Linked DNA regions of Homo sapiens: region 2 is linked to region 1. Evidence: promoter capture Hi-C in 16 types of primary human blood cells and fetal thymus (Javierre and others, 2016). All regions are on one chromosome and are shown on one strand. The core of a region is centred on a gene start or on the middle of the fragment in contact, and the rest is flanking DNA. Distances in the headings are between cores, read along the strand shown. Region 1 holds the start of SPAST (spastin). Region 2 overlaps BIRC6 (baculoviral IAP repeat containing 6).

What was found. The method cuts DNA at HindIII sites, captures the fragments that hold promoters and counts their contacts. A CHiCAGO score of 5 or more calls a contact.
Region 2: a contact is called between a fragment that was not itself captured here and the fragment with the promoter of SPAST in region 1, in 1 of 17 cell types (monocytes). The highest score is 5.1, in monocytes.

The regions. Positions count from the first base shown.
Region 1 is chr2:32,061,824-32,064,973 of GRCh38, reverse strand. It overlaps SPAST (spastin), which reads right to left and starts at 1,418. Exons shown (of 17, transcript NM_014946.4): 1 at 728-1,418. The coding sequence starts at 1,142. RefSeq lists silencers at 555-684, 715-1,134, 1,195-1,334 and enhancers at 706-1,506, 1,555-1,624. The HindIII fragment of the contact is 15,667 bases long and covers 1-3,150 here.
Region 2 is chr2:32,384,316-32,387,690 of GRCh38, reverse strand. The region is part of intron 3 of BIRC6 (baculoviral IAP repeat containing 6); the gene reads right to left. Among named protein-coding and RNA genes, the nearest start is that of BIRC6, 29 kb to the right of the region's middle. The HindIII fragment of the contact is 4,321 bases long and covers 1-3,375 here.

The sequences.
Region 1 (3,150 bases), core at 169-2,668:
AACATACATAGTTGTTTTAGGTTTTACTGTAAAGTGGTATGTTTAAGTTTACGCAATCCATTCATCAAACATTTCAACTTGGAAATTAAAGGCTACTTTGGAATACTGTTTTAATTAAAATCAAAGCAACAGGGGGAAAAGTTTTATGCTAAATATAACTTCATTGAAAAAGTATTCAGGAATCGTTGTACTGATAAAATGATTATCTTGATTAAAATGATGCAAATTCAACTGCAGTCATATGCAGCTATTTCTTTCAAAATTGTCACCATTTGTTCTTTTTTTCTGACACTACAATACTCTGCTTTCATTAAAAGCCAGTAAGGCGGCACTGCTTCTTCAATATCAAAACCTTTTGGAAACCTTGGTTCAGAGGAAGCTGCACACTCTTCACAGTGCTAGAAAGGATCAGTGTGGTCACTCTAGGACAAATGTCACTGTCATCAACACGTCTGGGTGTCTCATAGTGACCTGGGTCATGCAGAAGTGTGGGGGAAGGCTGGTGTCTGAAACAAAGTCGACAGCTACAGTGCCCTGAAAGGGGAGAGGTTTTAAGAATACTAGAAGATGAGGCTCCGACCTACGGGAAAGCAGTCTCCCGGGGCATATCAATTCCGGGGGTGCACCGTCCCCTCCCGCAGAAAAGGGACGCAGGTGTTGCCCTCCCCCGGCGACCCCACCGCCTTCTTCCCGGCGCCGCCGCCCCCTCCCCCAGCCCCCTAGTTACCTTTCTCATCCTCATCGATGCGCAGGGCAATGGAGATGTACTCGAAGGCCTGTTTGTGGAAGACTCGGACGCGCTCGGCCTCGCCGCCCGGCACCGGCGCCGGGGCCGAGGCCGAGGCAGGTGCTGGCGCGGCCCCGGAGCTCCTCTTGGCTGCCATGAGGGCGCGGGAGAAGCGCTGGCAGAGCCACACGAAGAGGAGCCCCAGGTGGAAGGCGACCAAACGCAGCAGCGCGAAGCCTACAAACAGCGGGTAGGAGAAATAGTACAGGTTCCGCTTATGCGGCGACTCGGGCGGAGGGGCCGGCCCGGCGGCGGGAGGGGCGGGGGCCAGGCAAGGGGGCGGAGGCCTGGGAGGCACCGGGTTGCTGGCGCCGCCGGAGCCTTTCTTCTTCCCTCGTCCACCCGGAGAATTCATTCACAGCTCTCACTGCCGCCGCCGCCATAACCCGCCTCCCGCAGACCGACGGGAACCAAGCGACGGCGGCAGCCACTGCTACGGCGGGGGCCACAGACCCCCGTGTGCCCGCCGGTCTCAGGAGCTCCGCACTGCCGCACGCTGCCCGCCGGCCCCGCCCCTTTCTCCTTCCTCGGCCAGGAGCACAACCCCTTCTCCTCCTGCAGTCGGTGGCTCGGGCCCCTCCCTTCCTGTCGCTGTCCTCTCCGCCGCCTGGTGGCTCCCAGCGGCGGCCGCGCACGCGCACGTCTTCCCGTGTTTTTCTCCGGCGCGCGCGCGCACGGCGCGTCTTTGTTGACCGGGGCCCCTGTACGCGTGTGCGGCCCCCGCCTCTCGGCTTTCCCACTCAACTACAGTTCCCAATGTGCAGTTCGGCTCACGTCGGCAGCCCTGGAGAGCTCCTGCCAGGAAGCCTTCGTAATCGATCCACGGAAGGGGGAATTGCGGCTTGGGGTCGCTCTGCTGGTTCGCTAGGCTCCTCTCTCAGTGTCGTCGTTTTCTTAGATTTCTTTCATCTTTTTCTGCCAGGCGACCTAAGTCTTCTCCGAAGGATAATTGGCCCATCTCAGAAGCAATGGATATCAATCTGGGAATTAAATTAGCCGGGCGTGGGGGCGCGCGCCTGTAGTCCCAGCTGGTTGGAAGGCTAAGGCCGGAGAATCGCTTGAACTCGGGAGGCAGAGGCTGCAAGTGAGCTGAGATCGCGCCACTGCACTCCAGCCTGGGCGACAGAGCGAGACTCCGTCTCCAGAAAAAATAAAATAAAAATTTAAAATCTGGGAATTATTTGAGAGGAAAGCAATTGTGAAGATAAGAAACTTCAGGTCACTGCAAACAACAGCAACAAAAATGTTAGCTCAGTGTGATGAGATCAACTAACCCAGGGGTTTAACTAAATTAGTGCATATTTAGATGTCTAATATGAAAGATAATTTATTTGAATAAGGGAAATCTTAGGTTTTGCATAGTTACCATCCCATAGTTTACTGAAGAATCTACACTTTTTTTTTAATCTACTCAGCATCCCTTCCTTTGGGAAACTACCTGCTTGTCTCTGCTCCCTGTATTCTAATGAGCTGCAAGCACAGAACCCAGACCGCAAAGGCGGAAGCAAACACTAGGTCAGTCAGATTCTCCTGGGACCTGGAATCTTGGCTGGAGACCCACCGAATAGAAAGTAACTGGAAACGAGTGCTCTTAAGAGCGGGTTTATCAATGCATCACATTGAGCTCCCCCAGAGCTGCTGGGTTCCTGACTGGTCACTTGGTTATGTAATCTATCCAATACACTAATCAGTCTGTTTCTCTGTTTCTCTCTTCCTCTCTCCTTTCCCCCTTCCTTCCTTTCGTCTTTTCCTCTCTCTCCCTCTCTCTCTATCTCCACGTCTTTTTTCTCTTCTCTTTCTCTTTTTACTTGAGTTAGCCATAATTATTTCTTGTTTCCTAAAACTAAGGAAGCCAAACTGATAAAAAGACTCCGTTATTTACAATGTGAGGTTTCCAAATGCCCCATGAGAGCTTCCAGCTTCCAAGAATCTCCACATTCTGCCACAGCTTTATTTTTTTATTTTTTGGACAGGGTTTCACTCCATTGCCCAGGCTGGAGTGCAGTGGCGCAAACAACATGACTCACTGCAACCTCCACCTCCCTGGCTCAGGTGATCCTTCCACCTCAGCCTCCCGAGTAGCTGGGATCACAGGCACACGCCACTGGGCCCGACTAATTTTTGTATTCTTTATAGAGCCAGGGTTTCACCATGTTGCCCAGGCTGGTCTCCAACTCCTGGGCTCAAGCAATCCGCCTGCCTCAGCCTTCCAAAGTGTTGGGATTACAGGCATGAGCCACCCCATCGCGCCCCCAGCTAATTTTTTTACTTTTTTGTTGAGACAGGGTCTTGCTATGTTTCCCAGGTTGGTCTTGAATTCCTGGGCTCAAGCAACCTGCCCGCCTCGGCCTCCCAAAGTGCTG
Region 2 (3,375 bases), core at 144-2,643, 320 kb before region 1:
AGTTCAGCTTAGCAGATGCATTGTTTTTGTTGCTGTTGTCACCATAATCCAGCAATAGCAACTAAAAACACAGGCCTTATAGTCACACATCTGGATTCTGGGCCCAGCTTCGCCATCAGCAATATTCGATAAATGTTAGCCATGATTATTTAATATTACAACAATTACTGAAGTTAGACCACAAAAATGCTAAGTACTATTCTCCCAGAGAAATAAGTCTATAATGTAATTGCATCTTTATATCCTGTCCCCAGTTCACCCATGAATGGTTTCTACTCTTGTCTAGTATACTCAAGGCAGCCTAGTAAATTATTATTTATCTATACAATACTGGAAAAACTTGTAGACAAAAACATGACTTGAATTGCTAAAAAAAAAAAAAAAAAAAAGAGGGAGAATGAAAACTTCTAGACCTAATTAATCTGTTCACAGATCAGAGCTTTTTATTGAAAGGGAGGATGACTCCCCTTGAGAAAGGATCCTATGATACCCCAACTATAGTTGGTACTGTAAATCATACTCCAAACCTTCCCTCAGAAAGACCTATGGGCATTCACTACAGTGACTGTGCATGGGGGAAAAGATCTTTCAGGCATTACAAAAACATGGCACTGAACTGACCTAAAACATCACTGTGGTCCAAGAAAGAGGGCACGTAGGATGGTCAAGCGATTAATAAAGTTTCAGCCCAAAGCTGTCTCAGAGAGTTCTATGGGTCTGTAAATCCTTATTGTGTAATAGTTACTTCCCCAGTTCCTGAATGCATAATATAAAACAGGCAACTGAAAACAATCCCCAGATTAGCTCTCTGCTCTTCTCTGTGGGCCAGTAATATAGAAAACATGAAGTATAAGCCCCTAGAACTTTCCTTCTCTACAAAGATATTAAACTAAAGCAATGCTACATTCCTGAAGAAATTTTTTAGATTAATGCCACTGTAAAAGATTTGAGGTTGGGCACAGTGCCTTCATACCTATAATCCTAGCACTTTGTGAGACTGAGGATGGAGGTTCGTTTGAGCCTAAACGTCTGAGACCATCCTGGTCAACATAGCAAGATCTCATCTCTACTAAAAAATAACAGCCAGGCGTGATGGCATGCACTTGTCATCCCAGCTACTCAGAAGCCTTGAGGTGGGAAAATCACTTGAGCCCAGGACGGCAAGGCTACAGTAAGCCAAAATCACACCACTGTACTCCAGCCTGAGTGACAGAGCAAGACCCTGTATTGGAAAAAAAAAAAAAAAGAGAGAGAGACTTAAAAGATACAGAGGTAATCAAATGACCTCGTCCCCTTTACTGGACTGTTGTAAATGAATCTTGAAGAATGACTGTGGATGGTAAACTATCAGGTGGCGACTTCCATTGCAGCTGCTTTTCCAAATGAGGTATCTTTATTAAAGCAAATCAACAAATCCCCTGATATCTGGTAGGTAGTTACAGTTCTATCCAATATTTTTCTATCTTTACTTTTAAGGACTATACAAAAAGTCCACTTTTACCTGGCAGGAACAATAATAAATCTTTGCAATCTTTCCCTAAGACCACATCTCACATTCTAGAAATCCTGATCATCCTAACATCCTGCAGATCAACATAATGGTCCACTACATCATGACAGCACGCTGATTGGTCCAGATGAAAAGGAAACAGCAAGGAAATTAAATGCCTGAGTAAGGTGCAAACCAGAGAATAAGAGTCCCCAGAAAAACTCAAGATTCTGCAACCATGGTTAAGTTTCAGAGGTCCAGAGGTCTGGTCATGTCAGGATATTCCCTCCAGACTGAAAGACAAGTTGCTCCAACTTGTAACACCAACCACAGAAACAAAAGCCACAGTACTTAGTGGGCCTACTTGGATTTGGGAGCCAATATTTAGCATACTTGAATGTGTGCTCTAATCCAAGTATCAAGAAACATATAAGGTTGCCAATTTTGAGTAAGGTGCAAAACAAGAAACTCTGCAACAAGACCAGACTGTACTGCAAGATGCTCTGCCACTTTTACCTTAAGAGCACTTTCAATGACACTGACACTAGAAGTCCACAGCAAATAATGATGCTGTAAGGAGCCTGTGGCAACCTAATTGGGACAATCACACAGCAGAATGCTAGGGTCTTGGAGCAAAGCCACACCCTCTCATGCAAATAACCATTCTCCTTTTGAAAAACAGCTCCTAGTTCCTTACTAGTCCCAGATAGAGATTAATATCTATCTACGAAACTAATGTCTACAAATTCAGAGCTGTCCAAATGTTATCTGACACACCAACCATAATATTGAGCACCAGCAACAAGTATCCTTCATCAAGTGTTTTATAAAAGATCTGTCTTCACAAAGTCCAAAAGGCAAAAACTGAATAAACAAGTGGCTCAGAATTCAATACCTACTCCCACTATAATGTCTCCTCCTTGTTCTACATCAATAGCTTCATGGGGAACTCCTTATGATGAAATAATATGAGGGGAAAATACTCTTGGCCCTGATTTACAGATGGTTCTGCATGATATGCTGGTACTACCCCGAAGTGGATGGCTACAGAATCATAGCCCCAATCACAAGGAGAGTGGTGAAGGTAAATCTTCTCAATAGATAGAACTTCAGTCAGTATGTATGACTGTTCTTGTATGGATTTAGAGTTGGCTAGAAGTAAAGATCCTCACTAGTTAACAGAGTTGCTAATTTGTTAGCTAGATGGTCAGGCACTTGGAAGAAACAGAACTAGAAGACTAGCAGCAAGGAGGTCAAAAACAAAGGTCTATGAATAGAACTCTCAGAGGGTAAAAATACGTATGAAATATGTCAATGCAGACCAAAAGGCATCCATTTCAGAAGAAATGGGAGAAGTTATACACATTATATACATGACAGTAAGCCTCTCTCCACGGGCACTCCAGTGCTTGCTCAATGGACTTGTGTGCAAAATACCATGGCAACAGATATGGAGGCTATGCACAGGCCCAAAAATGTAAACTTCCCTGTACCAATACTAACCAGGCTACAGCTGTTGCTGATTGCCTAATCTGCCAAACAGTTACCAAAGTTGGGTGGCAAATATCACGTCATTTCCCAGGGGGAACAGCCAGCTATCTGACAGTAGGTTGATTATACGGGATTCCTAGTCATGGACTAGGCAGCAATTTGTCTTCAACATAACAAATATATATTCTAGGTATGCATTTACCTGTTCTGTCCATAGTTTTCTGCCGTAATATTATATAGTCCATTGCCTGTGGACTGACAGAATGTCATGGTATTGTAGAAAACTTTGCTTCTGATCAAGAAAAGTATTTCAAAGCAAAAAAAAAAAAAAATCTTTTTTCCACTGGTCTTACTGTGTATCATCCTGATGAAGCTGGCCTGGCAGAAAAGCTCAA